3 separate regions of the Homo sapiens genome follow, and regions 1 and 2 are each linked to region 3. Evidence: promoter capture Hi-C in 16 types of primary human blood cells and fetal thymus (Javierre and others, 2016). All regions are on one chromosome and are shown on one strand. The core of a region is centred on a gene start or on the middle of the fragment in contact, and the rest is flanking DNA. Distances in the headings are between cores, read along the strand shown.

Evidence for each region. The method cuts DNA at HindIII sites, captures the fragments that hold promoters and counts their contacts. A CHiCAGO score of 5 or more calls a contact.
Region 1: a fragment that was not itself captured here is called in contact with the fragment with the promoter of ARL9 in region 3 in 1 of 17 cell types (M1 macrophages); the score reaches 5.1 in M1 macrophages.
Region 2: a fragment that was not itself captured here is called in contact with the fragment with the promoter of ARL9 in region 3 in 2 of 17 cell types (total CD4 T cells and non-activated CD4 T cells); the score reaches 6.1 in total CD4 T cells.

What each region holds. Positions count from the first base shown.
Region 1 is chr4:56,778,702-56,782,929 of GRCh38, forward strand. No RefSeq gene overlaps it. Among named protein-coding and RNA genes, the nearest start is that of SPINK2, 41 kb to the right of the region's middle. The HindIII fragment of the contact is 396 bases long and covers 1,328-1,723 here.
Region 2 is chr4:56,804,374-56,808,646 of GRCh38, forward strand. It overlaps the pseudogene RN7SL357P. Among named protein-coding and RNA genes, the nearest start is that of SPINK2, 15 kb to the right of the region's middle. The HindIII fragment of the contact is 8,095 bases long and covers 1-4,273 here.
Region 3 is chr4:56,504,359-56,508,831 of GRCh38, forward strand. ARL9 (ARF like GTPase 9) reads left to right here and starts at 1,433. Exons shown (of 4, transcript NM_001363794.2): 1 at 1,433-1,783. The coding sequence starts at 1,505. The HindIII fragment of the contact is 16,175 bases long and covers 1-4,473 here.

The DNA.
Region 1 (4,228 bases), core at 276-2,775, 270 kb after region 3:
TCTAGAGGATATAAAGATCCCCTGACAGGGTGGAGGAACAGAAATAATTCCAATAAGTATCCTATCTTGCACCATTCCAAGTCTACAGAGGAGCAAGGGGAAATAAAAGACATTCCAGATTGTCTGGGGTCTCCAAAGTGGAGGGAATCTGTTGCTAAACATCAGTCTCCACCAGGCACGTGGCTCATACATGCAATCCCAGTGTTTTGGGAGGCCGAGGTGGGAGGATTGCTTGAAGTTAGGAGTTTGAGACCAGCCTGGGCAACATAGTAGGATCCCATCCCTACAAAAAATAAAACAATTAGCCAGACCAGGTGGCACGTGCCTGTAGTCTCAGCTAATCTCAGGAGGCTGAGAAAGGAGGATGGCTTGAGCCCAGAAGGTGGAAGCTGCAGTAAGACATAATCTGCCACTGCACTCCAGCCTGGGCAATAGAACAAGACCCTGTCCCAAAAAGATAAAATAAAACAAAAGTCAGTCTCATATAGGCTTCTTGCATCCAGCATGGGCTGGGCATAGGTCATAAATGTTGAAGCCAAGAGCACATGAAACTGCCCCACTACCCTACCTATATCCTTCTAATCAGGTGAACAAGCAGCCAAATATTTCCCATTCCCTGGGAGATGTGTGAAGGCAACTGAGAGAGCAGATGACTTAGGATTAGGAAGAAGGAACATGGCAACAGATAATCCCCTGGACATTCTGACCAGAGATCTGATGAGAAAATAAACATCTCAAGAGATTCCAGTGAGAAAGACGAAGAACAACCAAAGGTCAGATAAAATGTGGCCATTGAGGCCGGGCATGGTGGCTCAGGCCTATAATCCCAGCACTTTGGGAGGCTGAGGCAGGAGGATCACTTGAGCCAGAAGTCCAAGACCAGCCTAGATAACATATCAAGACCCCTATCTCTAATTTTAAAATCAACATTTATTAAAATAAATAAATATATAAGAATGTGGCCATTGAGCTCTTGACACCACCTAGTCTCTCCCCGACCGCACCAGGATGCATCAACATAGCACTCAGAATTGAGATGCAACCCTGCGGTGAAGAGGAGAGAGGCAAGAGTTTGATTGGCTGAGAAAGCCCTATTGGCTAAAGATTACATTTCTGCCACTAGGCAGAATGGGGACTCAAGCTGAAAGTCAAGTTTATTAAGCTAGGCACAGTGGTGTGCACATTTAATCCCAACTACTTGCGGAGGCTGAGGTGGGAGGATTGCTGGAGCCCAGGGGTTAGACATTAGCCTGAGTAACATAGTGAGATCCCATCTCAAAAAATAATAGTAAGAATAATCAAGTTCACTTAGAACAAAAATTAGAAAAGCTTTGTTTCTTGCATACCCAAGTATGTGTATTGAAATTTGTTCAAGATACACTAGTTTTTATCTGTTCACATGACTGTCTACCCACTGGGCTATAAACTCATCAATGGTAGGGACTGTGTCTTTTCATCTCTGAATCCCCAGCACATATCATAAAGACTGAAACAGAGGCTAAATGTATGTTCAGTGGATTCAGCCACTTGATGCCCATGCAAGCATGACATATCCAATGTTGCCAAACACCCTGGGTGGGTAAGCTAATCCATGAGCCCAATCTATTTAGCCAGAGCTCCATATGCATTTTGGACAGAGAAGAGGAGATAGTGGGGGCGGTGGGGAGGCAGCCCGTGGGAAATCCCAGGAGATGCCTTTGTGTAATCATCACTAGAAATTATAAGCTTATAAAACCACGGAGAATTTTTTCAGGGCTGGAAGAATCTCTGTAGGATCTAACCCAAAACAAAGTCAGGCATTTTTGCTCCAAAGCCTGTAGACAGGGCTGGTTTTAGAGCAGGTGGATTTTACCTTTGCCTCCAAGTGTGATTTTAAAGGCCCAAGCAGCTCCCTGCAAATCTTCCCCATCTGCTGTTGCAGGGTCCTACCTGGTATTCCACTTTAAATACTCCTTCCATTTCTTTAACCTGAAATCTTATTCTTTGCTAAAATGGAGACCGATTTGAGAAAAGAAATATTTTGAGTTACTATCAGCCTTTTATCCTTTGACCTAACCAAAAGAGCACAGAAATTTTTTTTTTTTTTTAGACGCCAGAGTCTCACTCTGTTGCCCAGGCTGGAGTGCAATGACGCAGTCTCAGCTCACTGCAACCTCTGCCTCCCGGGGTTCAAGCGATTCTCCTGCCTCAGCTTCCTGAGTAGCTGGGATTACAGGTGCCCACCGCCAGGCCCTGGCTAATTTTTGTATTTTTAGTAGAGACGGAGTTTCACCATGCTGGCGAGGCTAGTCTCTAACTGCTGACCTCGTGATCCGCCCGCCTTGGCCTGCCAAAGTGCTGGGATTACAGGCATGAGCCACCGCACCCAGCCCAAGCGGAGGAATTTTTTTTTTTTTTTTTGAGACGGAGTCTCGCTCTTTCGCCCAGGCTGGAGTGCGGTGGGGCGATCTCGGCTCACTGCAAGCTCTGCCTCCCGGGTTCACGCCATTCTCCTGCCTCAGCCTCCCAAGTAGCTGGGACTACAGGCGCCCGCCACCACGCCCGGCTAATTTTTTGTATTTTTAGTAGAGACGGGGTTTCACCGTGTTAGCCAGGATGGTCTCCATCTCCTGACCTCATGATCCACCCACTTAGGCCTCCCAAAGTGCTGGGATTACAGGCGTGAGCCACCGCGCCCGGTAAGCGGAGGAATTTTTAAAACAAGAGATAGGTTGGATGGAGAGGTGGAGAGTAACAGGTACATGGAAGTTGGGAAGGAGGCTCCCTGAGTGGAGAAAAGACAGAACAGAGAATCCCAGGGTGCAGATCCTTTGTAGGCTTTGCAGTTCTGCATAGGGCCTCCTATACCTATGCAAGAACAGGATGTGGATCTGGATCTGGGTGGACTGGAGAAAGAAAATAGAGGTGCTCCCCATCCCCCACTGCCTCACATTAGTCATTGGCGCCTTGAGAATTGTCCTGGCCTGCTTAGGAGCTGTTTTCTGTCTTGGATGAATTGGTGCTTTTCTAAGAAGAAAGAGAGCTGTGATGGACTGCAGCAGAAGTAAACCCTGGGGCATGCACCAACTCACCAAATTGATTCCTGGGCTTGGGATACAGAGAACTTTGTAATTATGAGACTATAATGCTTGTAAATTGGCTTGAGGAAATTAGACACACAAACCCGATTGCCAGGAGCCATGAAATAAGATTTGTTGGAGCCAAATGGATTTTGTGGATGCAAGCTTCTTGGAGGCTTGGGTTTTCTGTTGAGAAGACATCACTGAGCTAAATCTAATGACGGCAGGAGGTAGCTCTCACTTTCCAAAGCAAAGAAACTGGTAGTGCTGGCGAAGATACGACAGGCACAGTCTGAAGGTCTGTCTTGAGAATTTTCTGGAAAGATTGACTGCCAAGCAGCCCATGCTTCTCCTCATTTAACTGGGTCTTCTCAAGCAGGATGAAAAAGATCTAAGTTCATCTCTGCTGTGCTTCCGTTCAGGTGACTGATTAACTCACGGACACACTGGTATGGCTTAGAAACAAATACGTAGCCATTGTCTTAGTCCGTTAAAGCTGTCGCAACAAAATCCCATAAATTGAGATAAACAACAGAAGTTTATTTTTCACGGTTTTGGAGGCTGGGAAGTCCAAGATTAAGGCATCAGCAGATTTGATATGTGGTGAGGGCCTGCCCTCTAGTCCATAACTGGTGATAGCTGGCTACCTTCTTACTGTGTCCTCACAGGGTGAAAAGGCCAGCTAGCTCTCTGGAATCTCATTTGTGAGGGCTCTGTCCTCTTGTTCTAATCACCTGCCAAATGCCCCACCTCCTACTACCATCACCTTAGGGGTCAGAATTTCAACTTATGAATTTTGGAGGGACACAAACATTCAGACCACAGCAATCACTGATTGTACCTTAGGTGTATTTGGACACTTAGCACCTCCAAATGGAATGGAGTCAGGAAGACGTAAGTGATATAACTTCTTTTTTTTTTTTTTTTTTTTTTTTTGAGACAGAATCTTGCTCTGTCGCCCAGGCTGGAGTGCAGTGGCCCAATCTCAGTTCACTGCAGCCTCTGCCTGCCAGGTTCAAGCGATTCTTGTACCTCAGTCACCTGAGTAGCGGGGATTAGAGGCATGCACCACCATGCCTGGCTAATTTTTGTATTTTTAGTAGAGATGGGGTCTCACCATGTTGGATAGGCTGCTCTTGAGCTCCTGACATCAGATGATCCACCCATCT
Region 2 (4,273 bases), core at 251-2,750, 300 kb after region 3:
ACCTGTAATCCCAGCTACTCGGGAGGTTGAGGCAAGAGAATTGCTTGAACCTGGGAGGTGGAGGTTGCAGTGAGCCGAGATCACACCACTGCACTCCAGCCTGGGCAACAGAGCAAGATTCCATCTCAAATAAATTAATTAATTAAATAACAAAGAAGAATCTAAACCAGTTTAAGGTATGCTCCTGGAACTGTTCAAAATCTTCTGGGCATGAAGCATTGTTATCTTTTTCAGAGTAACATAGGAAAAAATGAAATTCACTGTTGGGCAAGTCAAAACGTTGTTTTCTTTGTGGTGTGTGGGATTTCTGGTTTGAGTTATCTTGCCTGTTCTTGCAGGAAGGAAATTCATGGAGGTTAGTGGTTTTGTTGTCATTATTTTGTGAGCTTCCTAAGCTGTATTTTCATGTCCTCAACCAACAAATATGCACTGTGCTAGGTGCTATTCTGGGCACTGAAAATACCATGATGAGCAAGACTTAGAGGATCTCCATCCTTGGGCAGCTTCTATTCTAGAACTCTCCATAGACTGTTGAACTTTCTTCTCACCATTTACTTGAGACAACTATAATTACTATGCCACTTTTAAAGAACATTAGACCAGCCTGGCCAACAAGGTGAAACCTCATCTCTACTAAAAATACAAAAACTAGCCAGGCATGGTGGTGTGTGCCTGTAACCCCAGCTATTCGGGAGGCTGAGGCAGGAGAATCACTTGAACCCTGGAGGCAGAGATTGCAGTGAGCTGAGATCGCTCCACTGCACTCCAGCCTGGAGCGAGCCTCTGTCTCAAAAAAAAAAAAAAAAAAAAAAAAAAAAAAAAAAAGAAAAGAAAAGAAAAAAAAGAAGAAGATTAAAGGGAAAAAACGAATTTTTCAATAAAGAATGAATGCTAGCCAGGTGCAGTAGCTCATGCCTGTAATCCCAGTACTTTGGGAGGCTGATGCGGGCAGATCACCTGAGGTCTACAGTTCGAGACCAGCCTGGCCAACATGGTGAAACCCCGTCTCTACTAAAAATTCAAAAATTAGCCGGGTGTGATGGTGGGGACCTGTAATCCCAGCTACTCTAGAGGCTGAGGCAGGAGAATTGCTTGAGCCCCAGTGATGGAGGTTGCAGTGAGCCGAGATGGCGCCACTGCACTCTGGCCTGGCTGACAGAGAGAGATTCTGTCTCAAAAAAAAAAAAAAAGAATGGATGCAAACTGAGTATACAGAACAACTCTAACTGAGCAGATTCGGGGCAGCACTACTTCTTTAACTCAACGGTATTAGAAAGAAGAACTAGGCACTCATTTGTCACAGAGGATGTAGATAGGTACACGCTTTTCAAAAATATTTTGAAATCTCTTTCAATGTTTTAAATTTGTGTATCTTCTGACCAAGTAATGCCAATCTTATGCATTTGTCCTACAGAATGTGCACAAAGAAGGAAGGGCATGAGTACAAAGACATAAGTTTAGCCAGGCATGGTGTCACATGTCTGTAGTCCCAGCTACTCCGGAGGCTGAGGTGGGAGGATCGTTTTGAGTCCAGGAGTTCTGGGCTGTAGTGTGCTATCCCTATGGGTGTCCACACTAAGTTTGGCATCAATATGGTGACCTCCTGGGAGCAGGGGACCACCAGGTTGCCTAAGAAGGGGTGAACCGGCCCAGGTTGGAAACAGGGCAGGTCAAAATCCCGGTGCTGATGAGTAGCAGGATCTCACCTGTGAACAGCTACTGCACTCCAGCCTGGGCAATATAGTGAGACCCATCTCTATTAAAAGAAAATTTTTCACTTTTTAAAAAATAAATAGGCCAGGTGCGGTGGCTCACACCTATAATCACTACACTTTGGGAGGCCGAGGCGGGTGAATCACCTGAGGTCAGGAGTTCAAGACCAGCAAGGCCAACATGATGAAACCCCATCTCTACTAAAAATACAAAAAATTAGCTGGGCATCATGGCGCATGCCTGTAATCCCAGCTACTCAGGAGGCTGAGGCAGGAGAATCACTTGAACCCGGGAGCCGGAGGTTGCAGTGAGCTGAGATCGTGCCACTGCACTCCAGCCTGGGCAACACAAGCAAAACTTCACCTCAAAAAATAAATAAAAATTTATAAATAAATAAATAAAAATAAAAGACATAATTTCAGCATTAGTGATAGTGAAAAATGAGAAATAATGTAAGTGTCTATCAGGATGAGATTGAATAGACAAATTATGGTATGTCTATATAACAGAATACTATGCAAGTGTTTTCAATGATGTAGATCTATATGTATAGATTTGGAAAAACATCCATGAAATATTAAGTCAAAAGAGCAAACTGTTTTTGCAAAAAAAGGTATAGTTTTCTATAATACAGCCAACATTTCAAGTGTCCTAAGCACCTTACATGCATTATCTTAAGTAGATACTATTATCTTCCTCACTTTATAAATGAGGAAACTGAGTTAAGCAGTAATTTGGTCAGTGAATGCAGATATCTGGCTTTGAACCAGTGTGCTTAGTCACTTCACTATATCAAGGAAGTAATTAATTCCCCTTTTAGCTTAGGCTAGTTTGAGTTGGGATTTCCCACTTTCAATCAAGAGAATCCTAATAAATAATCCAGATATAGGTCAATAGAGACTGGATAAATTATGGCACAATAACAGTATACTGTGTAGCTGTTTAAAAGAAGAAACAGGCTGGGCACGGTGGCTCATGCCTGTTATTGCAGCACTTTGGGAGGCCAATGAGGCAGATCCCTTGAGGTCAGGAGTTCCAGACCAGCCTGGCCAACATGGTGAAACCCTGTCTCTACTAAAAATACAAAAATTACCCAGGTGTAGTGGTGGCAGGCCTCCAATCCCAGCTACTCCAGAGGCTGAGGCAGGAGAATCGCTTGAACCCGGGAGGCAGAGGTTGCAGTGAGCAGAGATCATGCCACTGCACTCCAGCCTGGGCCACAGAGCAAGACTCAGTCTCAAAAAAATAATAATAAATTTTTTTAAAAAAGAAGAAACAATATATATCAACATGAAAACAAACCCAATATTTAAAGAGTAAAAGCAAGTTTACAGGACTTGTGTGTGCACATGTGTAATTTTGTATACACGTGTACTTAGAGAAAAAGACATTTCAAAACAGTTTTGGGTGCCTCTGGAGGCTAGGATGGGCAAGACTTTCACTCTATTTTTATATACTTCTGTATCTATTTTTTTTTCATTTATTTATTTATTTAATAGAGACGGGGTCTTCTGTGTTGCCCAGGCTGATCTCGAACTTCTGGCCTCAAATGATCCTCTTGCCTCAGCCTCCCAAAGTGCTGGCATTACAGGGGTGAGCCCCTGCACCCGGTCTGTATTTTTCAATTTTCCAAAAAGTATATATGACTCTTTTTTTTTTTTTTCAAGATGGAGTCTTGCTCTGTCAACGCAGGCTGGAGTGTAGTGGTGTGATCTCAGCTCACTGCAACCTCCACCTCCTGGGTTCAAGCGATTCTCCTGCCTCAGCCTCCCGAGTAGCTGGGGTTATAGGCACGTGCCACCACGCCCAGCTACTTTTTGTATTTTTAGTAGAGACGAGGTTTCACCATATTGGCCAGACTGGTCTCGAACTCTTGACCTCGTGATCTGCCTGCCTTGGCCTTCCAAAGTGCTGGGATTACAGGCAAGAGCCACCATGCAGGCCCAGGCTCAGTTCTATCACCTTAGGCAAATGTGTTTGCCTTTGTGGGCCTGTTTTCTCCTCTCTAGGAGGGGTGTCTGAAACAATAGTAGCACCTATTTCAGTGGCTTCTATATGTCAAGCACTATGCTAAACAGTTTCCTCATCATAGCTCCAGGAGCTAAACATCAACCCCATTTTCAGATACGAAAACTGAAACACAAGTGTTGGAATCAGAATGAACTCATATTTAGCTCACCCCCAAAAGCCATGTTCTCCCCACGATACCACTCTCCCAGCCACCTCTTGCCTCGCGTCTCACCATTTCCTGGTGCTGGAATGTACTTAAACCTAGGCCTTATGACTAAAATTCTCTACCTGGAAAACTCTATCATTCTAAATTCCTGGTCACTTATATTATTGTTATAAAATGTTTATACTGTATCAAACTCTAAAACAGGGTGTCTCAACCTTAGCACTACTGACATTTGGATTGGAAAATTCCTTGCTGTTGGGGGCTGACCTATGCAATGTAGGATGTTTAGAAGCATTCCTAGGTAGCACCCCACACCTCAGCAGTTATACCAAACATGCCTCCAGACATACTGCCAAATGTCCCCTTGGGGAAAATCACCCTGGA
Region 3 (4,473 bases), core at 183-2,682:
GTGGCTCATGCCTGTAATCCCAGCACTTTGGGAGGCCCAATCAGGCGGATTACCTGAAGTCAGGAGTTCGAGACCAGCCTGGCCAACATGGTGAAACTCCGTCTCTACTAAAAATACAAAAATTAGCTGGGCATGGTGGCACATGCCTGTAATCCCAGCTACTCGGGAGGCTGAGGCAGGAGAATTGCTTGAACCCGGGAGGTGGAAGTTGTAGTGAGCCGAGATTGTGTCACTGCACTCCAGCCTGGCCGACAGAGCGAGACTGTCTCAAAAAATATATAATTGTGCTAAACTGAAATATACTAAAGAGTTCAGTTTAGCAAGATAAAAGGAACCCTCCAGATATTTCTTAGCCAGTTTGAGAAACAATACCACCTTTGAAAAGCCCTTCGTGTGCCTTATTTACCATTTATTAGATAATTAGAAGTGACTAGACTATTTGGTTTTGGTTTTAATACTGAGCATTACTAGCAGCTGTGATCCTGGCAGGCTATCTCCGAATAATTTTTTTTAAAGTGAAATACAGGCCGGGCACGGCGGCTTATGCCTATAATCCCAGCACTTTGGGAGGCAGAGGCGGGGAGGATCACTTGAGGTCAGGAGTTTGAAACCAGTCTGGCCAACATGGTGAAACCCCGTCGCTACTAAAAATACAAAAATTAGCCGGGCGTGGTGGCCCACGCCTGTAATCCCAGCTACTTGGGAGTCTGAGGCAGGAGAATCGCTTGAATCCGGGAGGCGGAGGTTGCTGTGAGCTGAGATCGCACCACTGCACTCCAGCCTGGGTGACAGAGACTCCGTCTCAAAAACAAAACAGGAACTTAAAACAATGGAACCCATTCACGTTCTTCTATTTGTCTTTAATAATCCTGGGTAATAGTCAACTAATAATCCTGGGTAGTAGTCTGGAGACACTCCTAGCGGAGTTTACTCGGGAGAGGGCGGAGAAATACATGACATGAGCAGTACAGGCTCATGGTTGGGAGCTGAGGGAAGGCTGAGAATCCTCCCGGAACCTCTGGATTCTGACGCCCCAGGGGTTCTTCACACAGGCTGGCCGGTCTCGGGATTGAAGCCGGAGACGTCAGACGCTAAGGTTGCTTAGACTGCGGCCCACGTGGAAGGCTCTTAGCCACCCTGCCTGGCCCGAGGTAATCGCGCTAGGGACGCTTTTTCTGCAGCAATGATATACCCCGCCGAACTGTCCCACGTCCTGGTTGGGACCTCTTGGTTTCGCTTGGCTGGGCTCAATCCATCCGTACGCCTCCGCCCTTCCCTCTTTGCGAACCCCTGCGGGTTCAGCGAATCGGCTGCAAGAAGCCCTGCATCCGCGAGGTAAGCGGCGGTTGGCGGCGGTGCCGGGGTTGGCAGCGCCCGCGGGTTGTCTACGCCGCGGGGCCTACGTCTCTGTCGGGCGTGCACCTCGGGAGCCACACCTGGGGCCCAGAGCCACCGCTCAGCACGCGGGCACGCGGCGGGAGGGAAGGAAACCGCGGCGCTGGGGATGGAGAGGGGGAAAGTGAAGAAGAAAGAGAAGGAAAAGGAGACGCAGGAGGAGAAAATCGGAGAAAAGGGTAGGGAAGAGAAAGTGAAAAGAAAGGAGGTGGAGCAGAAAATTAAACAAAAGCAAGAGAAGCAGGAGAGGAGAAAGGGAAAAGAGAAAGAGGAAAAGAGGACAAAGCAAGGGAAGGAGACAAACAAAGAGAAGGAACAATTTAAGGGACAAGAAGAGAAAGGGGAGAACAAGGACAGCACCTTGACAAGGACCCCGCTCGAGCCGCTGGTAAGAGACCCAGTGCCCAGGACCCCTTGCCCCAAGGCTTTTGTCGGCCGTTCAGACCCCAGCGCTGTCTCTGTTACGTCGGAGGCCCCCGACCGCGTGGGAGCGAATGGATCTCAACTGAGGGCTATTTACCTATGGATGAAAGAGATGCGCCAAACTTTGAACGACCCATCCCCTTTTCCCGGGCCCCCTGCCCACCCTAGCCCTTATCGCTACCCCTGTGTCTTAACCTCAGTCGGGTCTGTTGTTGAGGGACAAGAGATCTCGGTCTTCATGGGGACATGGGGAACGGCCCCTCTACTGCCCTTAGATCTGTCCAGCGCGCAACACTAGCGCACAGACCACCTGACCACATTTAGAAACCAGCCCCGAACCCTCCCCACACGCAGGCCCTCTTTGCATTGAATGCGTTCTTTGTCAGAAGGGGCAGGGTTCCTGAACGCAGGAGGTGTTTGGGGACGCTGCAGTTGTTTTCAGACCACCAGTACCATGAATGGATGGCGGAAAAGTTTTAACTGACAGGTCTTAGAAACTTGGCATTATTTGGGTCAGCTGAATGGTCTCTGTGCTCCTGGAGTTCCTGAGCTGGCTCCTTGGCTTAGAGCTGCGCTCTGGTTCTAAACAATTATGAATGATTAACACAGTTGTGTGTGTGTGTGTGTGTGTGTGTGTGTGTGTGTGTGTGTGTGTGTTCTTTTTTGAGACAGGGTCTTACTCTGCCTCTCAGGCTGGAGGGATCCTCCCACCTCAGCCTGGCACCGCCCCCATCTCCCAACCTCAGTGACTGGCACTACAGGCACACGCCACCATGTCCAGCTAATTTTTGTATTTTTGTGCAGAGCTGGAGTTTCGCCATGTAGCTCAGGCTGATCTCAAACTCCTGGGCTCCAGCAATCCGCCCGCCTCAGCCTCCCAAAGCGCTGGGATTACAGGCGTGAGCCACCACGGATTAACAGAGATTTGATCTCTGGTAAAACACAGACTACATAGACTCATATTTGGCTAAAGGAATAACTTTTGACAAAAACGGTGTTCAGAATCACATTTTGTGTCTGAACTGTTTTACAAATTCAGCTTTCCTTAGGAGAAGGTAAATGTGAGGAAGCCTGAATGCAGAATTTCTAGGTAGGATGGGCGTAGGGACAGCAACGTGGTTGGAAAGGGAACTGATATTTTTGTTTTTGTTTTTTTGAGACAGAGTCTGGCTCTGTCGCCCAGGCTTGAGTACAGTGGCGTGATCTCGGCTCACTGCAACCTCCACCTCCCAGGCTCAAGTCATCCTCCCACCTCAGCCTCCCAAGTAGCTGGGATTACAGGTGCACACCGCCGTGCCTAGCTAATTTCTGTATTTTTGGTAGAGATGGGGTTTCGCCATGTTGCCCAGGCTGGTCTTCAACTCCTGAGCTCAAGCGATCCACCCGCGTTGGCCTCCCAAAGTGCTGGGATTACAGGCATGAGCCACTGTGCCCGGCCTGGGAACTGCTTTTAATTCACACTATTTTATAGGGCCTAAGATGACATTAGTCTAGGTACCACTAAGAAAGAAAAAAAAGCCGGCGCAGTGGCTCACACCTGTAATCCCGGCACTTTGGGAGGCCAAGGTGGGTGGATCACCTGAGGTCAGGAGTTCCAGAACAGCCTAGCCAACATGGCAAAACCCCATCTCTACTAAAAATACAAAAAAAGTAGCTGGGCATGGTGGCATGTGCCTGTAATCCCAGCTACTCGGGAGGCTGAGGCAGGAAAATCGCGTGAACCTGGGAGGCAGAGGTTGTAGTGAGCCAAGATCGTGCCACTGCACTCCACAGAGAGAGATTCTGTATCAAAAAAAAAAAAAAAAAATTCTCCCAATCAAAATGTGACATACTCTCAATTGTCAAAGACATTCTAATTTCAGAGATATTAAAATGTGGAATGTGGGGGGAATATGTATCTTAGAATGAATGAAGTATGTTGGGGTAGGCTGAATAGGGCCTCTGGTGAAGACTGACAGGACACAATCCACTCTTGGCTGCCATTTCTTGGTGCCAGTATTGCTTTAAAACATGCAATTTTAAGCCATCCAATGAAGTCTCCCTTGCCCCTCTTCCTTACCTTGACACACTCTCAGAATGACATCATAACATTTAGATGCAAATGAAGGGAATGGAGAAGAGGCAGGGATGGAAGACATCTATGAAAATACAATTTAGTTTAAGAGCCATCAAAGATTTGCTCCAAGAACAAATACGTACATTTTTTCTTTTTCTTTTTTTTTTGAGACAGAGTTTCACTCATGTTGCCCAGGCTGGAGTGCAATGGCGCGATCTCAGCTCATTGCAACCTCCACCTCCCAGGTTCAAGTGATTGTCCTGCCTTACTTAGCCTCCCCAGTAGCTGGGATTACTGGCATTCGCCACCACGCCCGGCTAATTTTGTATTTTTACTAGAGACCGGATTTCACCATGTTGGTCAGGCTGGTCTCGAACTCCTGACCTCAGGTGATCCGCCCTCCTTGGCCTCCCAAAGTGCTGGGATTACAGGTAAGAGCCACCGCACCGGCCTACTTTTTTTCAAATTCTGTTATTCACTATATGGCCTTCATAAATCATGATCTCTGTACAAGTCTTTATTAGGCCAGACCTCAAAATATCTCATTTTCACATAGATGTTTCTAAAAAGAAAGTGGGACAGACATTCTAATGCTGTTT